3 separate regions of the Homo sapiens genome follow, and regions 2 and 3 are each linked to region 1. Evidence: promoter capture Hi-C in human tissues and cell types (Jung and others, 2019). All regions are on one chromosome and are shown on one strand. The core of a region is centred on a gene start or on the middle of the fragment in contact, and the rest is flanking DNA. Distances in the headings are between cores, read along the strand shown.

Region 1 (4,315 bases), core at 1,694-4,193:
ATCAGCCAGGGACCTCAGCTTGGGCCACACCTTCCCCATCAGCCCCTACAAGCACAGCCGCACTCACTAAAAATTTCTCCAGCCAGACGCATCAGCAATGATCAAAGCTCCCCTTCCTCTCTTCCATCAGCAAAACCACAAAAAGCCTATCAGGCTGCCTCTGGCAGGAACTCAGAGCTCAGAGCAGGGGAGCAGCCTGCGCGAGGTTTCCAATCAGGCAAATCTGACTCTCCCCTTTTTAAGAGAACTGAAGACAAATTCTGAGAGTAGCCCACCAGACACACTTTCTCAACAACCATACGGCAAAAAAGTCGTTTTTGAACTTTCCCAGACTTATTAGCTTACATAAACAGAGATTTGAATAAATGTTTAAAAAATGAAATTCCCTGGATACCCTGTAATCAGTAAATGTTCATTATGGAAACACAGCAAATATGCATGAAATTTCCCAAGTGATATTCTGGCTACAAGATTATAAAGGCATCTCTAACAGCAGGCTGAGTTACAAAGCATCCTCTGTCGTCGGTTACAGTCCGAGGGGGATGTTCTACCAAGCCCAGGAGGTCAGACGAGCCTGCTCTCCTCTCCCAACTGGAGCCAAGGAAAATCAAAAGATGCTCATTTTGCCTGCTCAGGCAATTTATAAATGAGCCCCCACGCTGCCTGATGGATGCCTCTCGATAAATAATTAATCCTTGACCTTGCTTTAAGAAAGCCTTGACTTTTTAATTTGGGGTCTTTTTAAAAATCAATACCCGGGAAACATAATTCACTCTTGCCGAGTCTGATTCCAGGTTAATAAATAAATAAGTAAATAAATGAGCTGCACTGTTTGTGTGTCCCAGGGCGACTGGGCCAGGCAATGGGTCAGGTTCCGGCTTTGAGGTTTTTCTGTGTTCAAATGCTATTGGATAATTGATCAGCCAGTCCCACTGGAACCAACATTCAGACCCTCAAGAGGTCCCTCTCTTCAGGGTTCCAATGTTATTCCTCCCGTGGGTCACTTCACAGAGGCCAGTCTGCTGAACGCTCCTGAATGAACTCCCACGCCGCCTTCTGTGCTTGGGGTGTCCTGATTAAAATTAAAAGAGGATCTCCTGCTGGGATGAGTGTCCTTCCTGTGGCCTGTCTGCCTTGCCTTTGGGACAGGGCACAGGGTGGGCAGGAAAGGTCATGACAGCTGGAAAATGTTAAGGGCTCTGCCACACCTGCTCCACGGGTGCCCTGTCCTAGGGCAGGACTTAGGGAAAGACTTCCCCACAGGTAGGCAAGGGTCAAGGTGAACTCAGAAGAGAAAGGTTACCCAGGAAAGTGGGCTTGGTATTGTAGCTCCTGGGGGCCTTGGGCGGCGGTGGGAAATAAAAGGGGGTTGATCTGCCTCTTACCCCTCTGTCCCCCGCCCCTCTCCACCATCCACTCCAAAGCAGCTACTACCTCCCTGCACCCAACGCCTCTCCCACGTGCTCTGCTGCTGCGCCAGATCGCGCCAAGCAGATGGAGAGGGGCCGGGACGCGCGTTCCCCTTAACGGAGCTGATCACGGCTCCTGAGCCAGCGGGAGTGGCCCAGGGACGCAGAGTCCTCTGGGACGCCGGAGACGACTGCAGGACAGAGAGCCCCAGGATCGGCGCCTACTTCTGGGTTAAAACAGACAGCCGGGCAGCAGCGCCCACAGCCGAGGGCGCCGCAGCCGCTTCAACTCCGGGTCGGGGTCGCGGGCCTGGAGACAAGATGTACGCGAAAGTTAGGGCGGCGGGAGTCCCGCACTGGAGAAGGAATCGGGGTCACATCAGACCCAAGCCCCAGCATCGGGCACTGCCAAAACCCGTGATCGCCCTCCTGGCCCGGCTGGCCTCCAGCGAGGCCAGAGCGGGTCTGCAGAGTCGGTAGCCGGAGTTGCAGCCGCCGTCAGAGCTCGGCTCGGTCCCGCGGCCAAACGGATCATTTCCCCGCCCCCTGGAGCCGCCCCAGGCTCCGACTCCCGCACTCCCGACACACGCACGCACACACCTTCACACCATCGCTGACGCACGCACACTCGCCTCCAGCACTCACAGGCCGGTGCCCTGGAGAGTTGCGGGTCGGGGACGCGCGCGACGGAGCCGCTGGGTAGGAAGCCAAGGCCACTTAAACTTCCCCCATAGTCTCTGCCCGCCGCAACCCGTCCGGAGCCCCGGCTCCGAGCGCGCCAGGAAGCCCCAGCGCCCCGAGCGCTCCTGCCTGGCCCTCGGCGCTCGCTGCTCAGCGCCCGACGCCGCCTCCCCGCGGGCAGCACCGAGGGCCAGGAGGCGGAGCGGGAGTCCGCAGGGACCAAGAGGGCCCGAGGGACGGCAGTTCCCAGAAGCGCGGCAGCGAGTGAGATCCAAGGAGAGAAAGTCTAATTAAAGTTCCCGCTACCGGGGCCGGTCCCCAAAGTGCAACCAGACCCGAGCCCCGCGCGCCCACCTCCGCCCGCAGCTTCGGACTCCCATTCGCGTGCGGTGGCGGGGATGGCGAGCGGTGCAGTCCGGGGCCCGCTCGGGACCCCTTCCTGGCGTCTCTGCAGGCCAGGAGCCTGCGCAGGGCGGGAACAGGGGTGGGGCAGGGGCGCAGCCACTTACCTGGCGCAGCGGACGCACCCGAGGCCGCGGGCGCCTCCAGTCCGGGAGCGGTTCTCCGCGGCGGATCCTCTGCTTGGGGCGCGCAGGCGGCGGAGAGGACCTCCGACCCAGCTCGGGCCCGGTGCCTCCGCCCGCTCCAAGCGGAACCCAGTGCGATCTGTGGGCGAGCAGCGTGGGGCCGGCAGCCGGAGCGTGCGGGGAGCGAGAGGGCGCGGGGCGGCGTTCCTCTTCGGCCCCCGGCGCGATCGGTCCCCCACCTCCTGCTGCCGCCGCCGCCTCGTCCTCTCTCCTCCCCGCAGCACTGCCGGATCCGGCTTGCGCGCCGGGAAGGCTCCCAGCGAAGTGAGAGCGAAGCCTCCGGCGAGGCTGGAAATAGCGCCGCGCCCGCCCGGCGCCCCGCCCCCGGCCCGTGCCCCGCCCCGCCGTGGTGGCGGCTACGGCGGTGGCCGGGCCGGGCGGGGATCGCTCCAGCGATGCACTCGGCCCTCCCGGGGGCTCGCGGGCGCCGCGCCCACGCGCGCTCTGCGGCTCCCGCGGCCCCTCTGGCAGCGCTCTCAGAAAGAGTCGCTGCTGGGCGCGGTCCGGCGGCCGCGGGGGTGGGAGCGGTCGTGGCTGGGGCTGCGCCGGTCTCCCGGTTCAGGAGAGCCGGACTCCGGCCTGACGCTAGGCTCCAGACCGCGGCCAGTGCTGCCACTGCCTCGGTGGGTCGCACGCGGCGCCAACCCGGGAAAAGGACCAGGCGTCACCGGGGCGGGCCTTGACCACAGCGGGGCAGGGGCGCGCGCCCAGGACCCGATGCTGCGGGGGCGCAGGGCCGGTGAAAGGCGGAAGATTGATCCTGAGGAAGATTCTGGGATATCCCTGGGCTTCAGCTCGCGTGGAATTCGGTCAAGGCCGCGAGCTGCCTCAGGCCCGGGTGTCCGCATCCATCCTCAAATCCCTGGGGCTCTAGATTCTGCTGAAAGTGCCCTGCGAACAGGTGCTCCCTTCAGGACTTCATCCTGGAAGTTTGTGTCGGGTCACCAGCCTGAGAGCGGGGCCAACCGACCCTCTTCATACACACTCGGGAAAACAGCGTGGAGGGTGGAACCGGCCCACGGCCACACAGCACCGGGACAGAGTAGGGACAGGAACACGGGGCCCTGGATTCGGGTCCTTGTTCTTCCTAAGAAGAGGCAGCCCCAGCCTGCAGGGGACAAGCAGGCCTTGGGAAGGGGGGCAACTGCTTTCTCACAGGAGCTGGAGGAAACTGTGCACACAGTCACCTGTTAGTCTTGAAGGGACACTCAGTATTTTCAAACAACAGCAGAGAAGCCTTTAATAAAGTGAAAGACCCTTACTCTCTCCTCTCTAATGGTACCTGCTGGCTGGTTGGCCTGACTCCTACCAGCTGACCTAGAGTGAGTGATGGAATTGGGGAGTGAGCTGGGCCCATGGGTCTTGACTGACCAGAGTGGGGGACACCAGGCGGAGAGCAGAGCCACTCCTGGGGACGGCCAGGGAGCCCCTCAGCCCCAGGGCCATGAGGCCTCCTTAATGCCCCAGGTAAGCTCAGAGCATCCAAAAATAGACCAGGACAGATAAGAAGATAAATAGAAGCATGACAAAGAGATCATGGTCTTCCTTTAATTCTTGCAGCAACAGAGTAGACATTATCACTCCCGTATTACAGATGAGCGAATTGAGATGCAAAAATGCCACCATTTTGCTGGACTC
Region 2 (3,921 bases), core at 459-2,958, 180 kb after region 1:
GCCCCAACACTGTTTTCTCTGTGGCAGAGTCAGGCATACAGCAGGCGCTCATAAATGCTCCTGAGTGAAGGGAAGGAACAGGGCTGCCTCCTACCCTGGTGGTGGGGAAGGAGGACTGGGTGGGCTCCTCACTCAGCCCTCCAGGGATTCAGCCTGGCTGGGCGCAAAGACGTGCAGGTCTGAGCAAGGTGGCGGCCTCCCCGGGACTGTGCACTCTTGCAGGCGGCCGTATTTCCTGGGGATGTGGTCACCAACCCCAGTGAGCCTGATAGCCCAGTGGTTATCGAGGAATCAGGTCTGCACTACTGGGCTGGCTGATAAGGGGCACGTGTTGGTGTTGTAATGAGGTGCATGTGGCAACCGTTCCCAGGTGGTCCCAGGGCCAAAGGCCAGCCTCACCCGAAAGATGTTAAATGCCAGGGCGTGTTTCTGAAGGTGCCATCTCAGGAGGCCTTGGAGAGCCAGGGCTGAGCTCCCTGGGCTTGGTGGAGATAGTAGAACCAGGCTCATCATCCCTTCAGGATCAGACATCGTTTCCAGATGCCATAGGTGGGGCCAGAACCATCTAAACATTACCTGTAGGGTTGTCCATTTCAGACAACTCCAATTTGACCATTCAGAGGGTTTGCCTGGAGTACAGCTTGGGTCTCCCGATCCTCTCCCTGCTCCCGGCCAAGCAGGCTGATGGGTGCCCATCATGCACCACCCATCCTGGGAAGTCAGGCTGCCCATGGACCTGCCCTGTCACCTGGCTGGTGAGTGTTCGTCATTTCCAGCCTGCCAGTGCCCCTCACCGGATTACACACGTGCTGAGTAACAACAGGTGCCAGGCACTCTTCTAGGAGCTGGGGAGACACAACAGAAGGAATCCCATCTGTGAAGCTCTAGAGGGGAAATCAGTCAAATAAAGAAGTAAAATACATAGTGCATTCAATAGTGACCAGGACTGTGGAAAAATAAAAGCGGGGACGGCAGTAGAGGGAGTCCTGGGAGTGATTGACAGTGTTGAGTAGGATGATGTTGAAAGCCTTGCACAGAGCGGACAGTCAAGTGAGACCCAAAGTGGGCGAGGGACTGAGCTCTGGGGTGTCAGGGAACAGAAACAGCCAGGAGACTCGGGCAGAGGAGAGGACTGAAGGTGGGAGGTGGGGCCAGAGAGGTGAGGGGCCGAGCAGAGGAGGGCCACGGTCCAGCTGTTTGGCTACTGTCCAAAGCAGAGATGGAGGGGCCAGGTCAGGAGCAGCGAGCCCAGGAGGAGGCTCCTGTAGCCCTGGGGTTGGAGTGGATGGGGAAGGAGCAGGCAGGCCCTGGGTAGGTTGTGAAGGCAGAGCCAGCAGGACTCAGCAGCCCATCAGGGCTGGGTGTTGTGGGAAGAGTCCAGGATGACTCCAGGGGTCTGAATTTGAGCAGCCAGAAGGATGGAGCTGCTATTGAGTGAGGTGGGGAAGACAGGGAGAAGAGTCCAGACCCCTTGTGCCTGGGGAAGTTGAGGCAGCAGAGGGATGAACAGAAGAGCATCTGGGGAGAGGTTCAGAGGTTCATTTCCAGCCAGGATCACTCGTCTTGCGCAGGTCCCAGTGGTTGTCATTTAGAAGGTTTAGAAACGCTTGAGGAAAAGCCAGTGTCAAATCATTTAAGAACCTCTCTGGCAGACACTTGGCTCACACCTGTAATCCCAGTACTTTGGTAGTCCACGGCAGGGAGATCACTTGAGGCCGGGGGTTCGAGCCCAGCCTGGGCAACACAGGAAGACCCCATCTCTACAAAAACAAGAACCTTTCTTGGAACCCCACCTTGGAAAGTTTGGCATTTGCTCCAGGGAGTTTATAAATGGCATTTATCAGCCTTAAGGGTGGCAGCACCCTGTAGGTTGTGATCTCATTTAATCACAGGACAGGCTGACAGTCGGGGGTGCCAGCCACCCCACACGAGCTGGGGACAGCCTCTTCAGGACGGTGCTGGGCTGTGTGACCCACAGACACTAGAGGAAACCCCTGTGGTGGGCATCCCTCAGCCGGATCCTTCCCACCTGGGGTGTCTCCTTTGCTGAGAGCTCCCAAGGAGCTAAAGCAAATGACCTGGGCCCCAGAGGCATTGCCGGGCAGCCCTGCTAGTGAGAGCAGCTGGGGAGGCTCAATGAACCTCACAGCCAGCCCACACCAGAGGCCAGCCCGCCCTGGCCTAGGCCCACGCACTCCCAGGCCCATGTGCACAAAGGGGAGGAGTCTTTACTCGGACCCGCCTATGCCTGAGGTCTGGCCCCTCTGGGACAGGATCTGCAGGCTCTGGTGCTGCTCCTCAGGGTCCTGCCAGAAGTCAGGGCCACCAACAGCCAGGACCCCTCGGCTCAGGTGCCCAGCCCAGAGGGAGGCAGGGGGCAGGAAGGCCAGGAGGCACAGGACTAAGGTGCTAGTGGGGCACCCTCAGGGCTGTGATGCATGTGAGATGTGCCCAGGTTATGGGAGCCCTGTCCACGTCGCACTTTTCCCTCCTCAGGGGAAGCACGTGGGGTAAACAGTCCATGACGTCTCAAGCAGCCCCTCCAACCTCGACTCCATGTCCTGTCCTTGGGCAGCCACTTCTGCACTGCCAGGGAGGAGAACTGTGCCACTGGCCTGGCCTTGAGCATAGGCCCCTGTTTGACTAGAAGGCACGCCACCTGTCTCTTATGTCCCAGCACTTTGGGAGGCCAAGGCAGGTGGATCACTTGAGCTTAGGAGTTCGAGACCAACCTGGCCAACATGGCAAAACCCCATCTCTACTAAAAATACAAAAATTAACTGGGCATGGTGGTGCGTGCCTGTAATCCCAGCTACTCAGGAGGCTGAGGCAGGAGAATCTCTTGAATGAACCCGGGAGGCAGAGGTTGCAGTGAGCTGAGATCGTGCCACTGCACTCCAGCCTGGGCGACAGAATGAGACTCCGTCTCAAAAGGGCAGGAAGCACTCCTTTGTCCCAGGGTTGCCATTGGTTGGTACTGAGGTGTCACAGTTCAGCTCCGAGGAGGAGAAAGCTTGGGGAGAATATTTTCCTCCTGGACAGCTGCCCCTGCCAGGGTTGGGCTGTCGGCTTCCAGCAGAACCCTGCCCGCCCCCCATCACCTCAGGGCCACTCCAGTCCTGGGTAGTGGAAACACTCACCGTTGGCAAGACTGGGGGCATAGAGTGCCCTGACGTAGGTCTTGGCATCAGACCTCATAAGGCAAAGGGCAGGGGAGAGAGACCCTTGGACCTGCCTCTTCTCTTGATGTCCCGCAGTTGGCATTTTCTGGCAACCACAAGAGTCACCCTGGTCTGGCTCAGAGAAGAGATAGCCAGCTGTGTTGGTCTGGGGCCCCCTGCAGGGCAGGATTGTAAGATGGGCATTGTTTTCCCTGCAGAGTGGGCACAGCCTGTACCCTGGGAGAACTGTGGGGAGTCGTTCTGGGCCCAGCAAGCAGGTGGCTCTCTTCTCTCTGTGCCCAGCTGAGGGTCCATGCTAGAAACCCAGCACCCTGGGTCTGCCCTCTGAGATCCCAGCTGGGTTCCTGGACATCCCTGCAGCCTGTGTCTGGGCAGGGAGCCAGCTGGTGTGATTGGAGGGCTACTTCCAGGAGCCCAGGAGAATTGCCCGTGGCTCTCATGCACCGGCTCCTGTTTCACGGTTAGACATTTCACCACATTGTCCTTCCTGCATTGTTTTTTCTGTCCCTTTCTCTGGCTCTGCTGTGACTTCATTGTTGCTGAGGGGAGAGCCAGGGTGTCAGACTCCATGTGTTATTCAGAGTTTGGACCCTGCCTCTTCCAACAATGAGATTATGTGCCAGAAACTGGCGAGGGTTGAGAAAAATGGCCTGAACTGCACGGTCGGGGCGTGCCTTTGGAAATCACTGCCTGAGGCATTTCTGACACCACCGCCCCCCCAAGTCTCCTCCTAATGACA
Region 3 (4,427 bases), core at 1,862-4,361, 210 kb after region 1:
CATCCGGGTCAAAACCATAAGCTTTGCAGTCGGAGACCCTGCGTGGACTCCGAGCCCGAACACGGATTCAGTGGGTTTCCTGACCCCAGCCCGTCATTGTTCTGACTGCAGCATCCTCTGTGCAGTGGGAAGATCCCTCAGCCCCCAAAGGGTTGTTATCATGCTAAATGCTGCAGTTGACTGTTCAGTTTTTCTTACTGGAGCAGCTACACAACCTGCCTCAAGCCTCAGACTGAGTGGGCAGCAGGGCCTGGATTGAATCAGTCTGCCCACCCATCCCCACAGTGCAGTGCCTTGTGGGGCTCCCTGGCAGGAGCTGAGTAGTCAGGGAGAGTGATCTGGGCAGCAGTGGGGCTCCAGGAGTGTGACTTCATCTGCTTGCCCACATGGAGATGGTCCATGCAAGCCCAAGAAGCCTGGCCCCATATACCCTGTGACCATGCTGGCTGGCCTTCTGGAAGCCCTGGTGGGAAGGTGTTGCCCCAGGTCAAACAGTCTCTGTCTGTGGGCCAGGACTGGTGTAGGAGCGGCAGGAAGAGGGAGTGAGGAGCTCCGGGCAGCAGAGCAAGCTGCTGAAGCCGAGCACCGCATCTGCTGCAGACGGCCTGTGTCTGACGCTGCCATGTTGGTGCCGGCTACACGGTGATGCTGACCAGCTCTCCGCTAGCACCAGTTTTATTAATCATGCATTTCTGGCTTTAGTCCGAGGCTTCAGGTCAGTCCCTTCTTGGTGACACATCACGTGAATGCCTCTTGCTCATTTCAGGCACTCGGAGCCTCAGAGGGTGCTCATTCCTAGCTTTGTCTGTGTTTGTCGTCATGCTGGGGCCTGGGGAAGGGGAGGCACGCAGCAGTCCCCCAGTTCACTGCCAAGTCCCAGTACCTGCTCTTTGGAAGACCTACGGGGAACAGTGCTAAAAGAGCCAGGACCTGCCTGGGAGTTGGGGTCCTGGATAGGTCGCTGGTGCCACCCAGGCGGCGATTCCAAGGGTAGGGCTTGGGCGCCTTCGCCTGTGCCTTCTGATGACCCACTGGTCACCCCAGAAGAAGGGCGTGGAGCAGCTCCCCTCCTTCCATGGGAATTCAAGAAGAATGTAGTACGTGCTTCTGGTTCCATGCAAAAGGAGCTATGCCAGGGCTCCACTGGTAGAAACATCCGGTTTTGGCTCCAAGTCCTCCATAGTAGCTGCTCCCACTTTGGGGACCATAAGGCACGCTCTGCTCGGCCTGAGGTGTCTCAGGGCATCCCCTGCAGGACTGTATGGCCCTTACTCTGAAAAGGATTTTCCCTTAGTAAGTGGTGTATCACGTTAATGACACAATTATGGTCATGTGTACCCAGAAAATATCGCAGCAATTACTTAAAATAAATGTGAATTATAAGCAACTTAGTGCTGAGACGACTATACACAGCACAACTGCTTGGCCCCAAACATCATGAGGTACTTCTCACTCTCTGTGGCTCTCTCCCTCTTATGTGCCCCAGTCCTGGGCGCACCCCGGGAAGGCGGGGACCCTGGGTCAGCTCCGTGAGGGCGAGGGGCAGCTGTGAAGGGATGGTGGGCACAGGCCCCCTCTGTCCAGCCAGAAGCCTGTCTGTGCGCACGTGTCCCGGTAGCTGGTGCAGAGGACACACCTCCGCGTTTTTGCTGGTGAACATCCTGGAGATGCTGGGAGTGTGTGGGCCCAGGAAGGACTTCTGTAGAGAACTTGGCTGCCTGGAGGGTGCGGGAGTGGGTGTCCGGGCCGTGGACCTATGCAGATTCTGTTTGGTTTTAAAGGAATAGTCAAGAGGCTGTTTCTCAAAGCCTGGCACAGGATGCCCACGACCTCCTCTCCTGCTGCCTGAGGAGGGATCCCCATTCTCCAGCCTCCCTCCAGGCCTCTGAACAGTGACCACGATGGCTAGGTCACTGTACACAGAGCTCCTTGGGTACCAGGCACCATTGTGTATACTCCATGTATGTTAAATCATTCGACTGGCATAGCAGCCCTGGGAGGGAGGCACCGCTATCATCCCCATTTTACAGATGAGGAAACTGAGGCACGGAGAGGCCATTCAGCTGGCCAGCAGCAGAGCCAAGATTTGCCCTTGAGGTTGGTGTTGAGTCCCAGAAGGCTGGGTATGTGGGGCCCAGAGCAGGGAGCCCAGCACAGGGACCGGGGTGCGGAACACACCCTCCCCACCTCAGGTTTGTAACCCCATGTCCCAACTACCTGCTTTCCTAAGCCCTCTGCCCAGCTGAGGGGGCTCCACCAGCTCTGCGCATTTTCACTCCCAAGCTTCTGTTTCCGGCCCAGCCTCCCCTCTCCACCTCTTGAGTACCTGAGATCCATTGAGGCCCAGCCGGGGAAAGGGAATGATGTGGCCAGGGCCACCCCTTACACTGCCTCACTAACCTCTTCGGCGCTACCCCACCCATGCTCGAGGCACATAGCTTGGCCGACACTTGCTGCCAGGCAGCCCTTCTACCGCTGTCTGGGCAGCTGCAGCATTTTTATAGGACTGTGACTCGTCTTCATGTTAGGTGATAAACTTCTGAGGGCAGGAGCTGGGCCGTGTGCCCGGGAGCGCTCCACGGGCTGGATTTGTGGGTCCCAGTGGGAGGCCCAGCGACGCCGTCTCTGGGGACCCCATTCCTGCAGATCTGGGTCTGGGAACTTGCTGCTCCTGCCCCATTTGTCATCTCCTGGCACTGACAGATGTGCCTGCCCCACTGACACTGCAGTAACTCCATCCACCTCGTTATTCACCACTCATGCAGTTCCCCCAGGTTGCTTAAGGGCTCTCTCACTTATGCCTGGATACAAGCCTCTTCTACCCGAGTCTTGCCTGGGAGAAATTTATAGGTGAGGGTGTTAGAGGAATGGCCACATAAGGAAAAACAACGGGGCCCACACAGCAGCCGGGATGTCGTTGGCTGGGACTTAGGCAGACCACGGCCTCCTCTCAGCCAATCAGGAAGCCCCTCCCTGCTGCTGGGGAGGAGGTGCGCGCTGGGCTTGAGCCTGGCTGGGGTGTGTGTACCACCCCATCCGCCTTCCAGGTGAGCAGGAGGGAGCAGGGGCTGTTAGACCCAGCTGGTCCGGGGCTGCACGATGTGAGTCATAAATTTATGGAAGGAGCCTATGGAGATGGTCGCAGTGGGGCGGTGACACTCCTGCCTGTCTTGCTGGCTGCTGCCCTCTGCTGGAGAGCCTGTTCCAGGTGTTAATTATTTTGGGTGGGTAGTAGCTAGCCTGCTCCAGGGATGACTTGGCTGGACCCCTCCTGCCTCGCACTTGGAGGAGTTGTGATGCTGCCACTGCCATGGCATGTCGGTCATCCACGGGACAGGCTGTTAGCCTGTCCTCATAGCCCACACTTGCTCCTGGTCATCCCAGCACCACTCGCCAAGCTCTGGCCCAGCTGTGCGGGGGCACACGTTGCGTCCGCATCAAGCATGGGCCCCAGTTTGGAATGTCCACCCCTCAGTGCTCACCGCTTGAAGATCAGAACTGTGCCGCGCCGGGCTCACACGCTTCCACAGGCCCCCTGTGCCGCCACAGCTGCCCAGAACTTGGGTGCCCTTGTGCGTCCACACCCCAAGCCTAAAGTCTGCAGAAAACGTGGGCTCGTTTTGCCCACCTGTTATTGCCACCAAAGCACCAGTGTGTCCTCAAGTTGCGTCAGAAAAGGTCATTTAAAACAAAATTCAGGACTGAAGTCCACTGTGAAGCATTTCAGCTTTTTTTAGGCGGGCGTGAATATCCAGCACGTGGTGCTCCTCCTCTTTTCAACTCCTTCCTATGGAACAGTGTGTGGAGTTGTCAACGTGGCCGGCAAAGGTGACCAGTGTCGGGCTGCACTTTGCAGGTGAAAACTGGGTCAGCCTTTCTTTAGTTTGATGCTTCTGTGAGCTGTGCCTTCTTGAAGGCACTATTTTTTTCTTAAAAAGCAGCAAAGGCATTCAAAGACAGTTGTCTCCACTGAGTGGGTTATGCAGGGGGAAGCTTGCTGCAGGCGAGAGAGCCAAGTTTCCTCACTGCCTCCCCTTTCTGATGTTTTTTTCTTGTATTGATTGATTGATTGATTTTTTGAGAGCTGGGGTCTTGCTGTGTTGCCCAGGCTGGTCTTGAACTCCCGGCCTCAAGCAGTCCTCCAACCTTGGCCTCCCAAAGTGCTGGGATGACAAGTGTGAGCCACTGCGCCCGGCCTGCCGCTCCTTTCTTGTAGAATATGTGAGTTCCTCTGCACATGCGGATGGCATCTCTGTCCCTCTGCCTGTCTTTTCTGAAGCCGGCCAGTCCCAGCGCAGCCCGTGGTTGTCTGCAGGTCACTTGTCCCACAGAGGTCCGCTGTCGCCATCACGTCGAGAATGACCATGTGACCTCTGAGGTTCGCTTCTGTTGGTGCAGGACCACATCTCACAAAGCCAAGGGAGCAC

Evidence for each region. Contacts are between HindIII fragments. The study calls those that stand out against the background at their distance.
Region 2: a contact is called between a fragment that was not itself captured here and the fragment with the promoter of CHST8 in region 1, in 1 of the 25 tissues and cell types used here (liver).
Region 3: a fragment that was not itself captured here is called in contact with the fragment with the promoter of CHST8 in region 1 in 4 of the 25 tissues and cell types used here (H1 embryonic stem cells, bladder, dorsolateral prefrontal cortex and 1 more).

The regions. Positions count from the first base shown.
Region 1 is chr19:33,620,581-33,624,895 of GRCh38, reverse strand. It overlaps CHST8 (carbohydrate sulfotransferase 8), which reads right to left and starts at 2,943. Exons shown (of 5, transcript NM_001127895.2): 1 at 2,600-2,943. RefSeq lists an enhancer at 3,238-3,982. The HindIII fragment of the contact is 24,734 bases long and covers 1-4,315 here.
Region 2 is chr19:33,437,742-33,441,662 of GRCh38, reverse strand. The region is part of intron 9 of PEPD (peptidase D); the gene reads left to right. Among named protein-coding and RNA genes, the nearest start is that of CEBPG, 66 kb to the right of the region's middle. The HindIII fragment of the contact is 8,430 bases long and covers 1-3,921 here.
Region 3 is chr19:33,415,160-33,419,586 of GRCh38, reverse strand. The region is part of intron 9 of PEPD (peptidase D); the gene reads left to right. Among named protein-coding and RNA genes, the nearest start is that of CEBPG, 44 kb to the right of the region's middle. RefSeq lists enhancers at 311-1,196, 3,103-3,252. The HindIII fragment of the contact is 3,918 bases long and covers 1,153-4,427 here.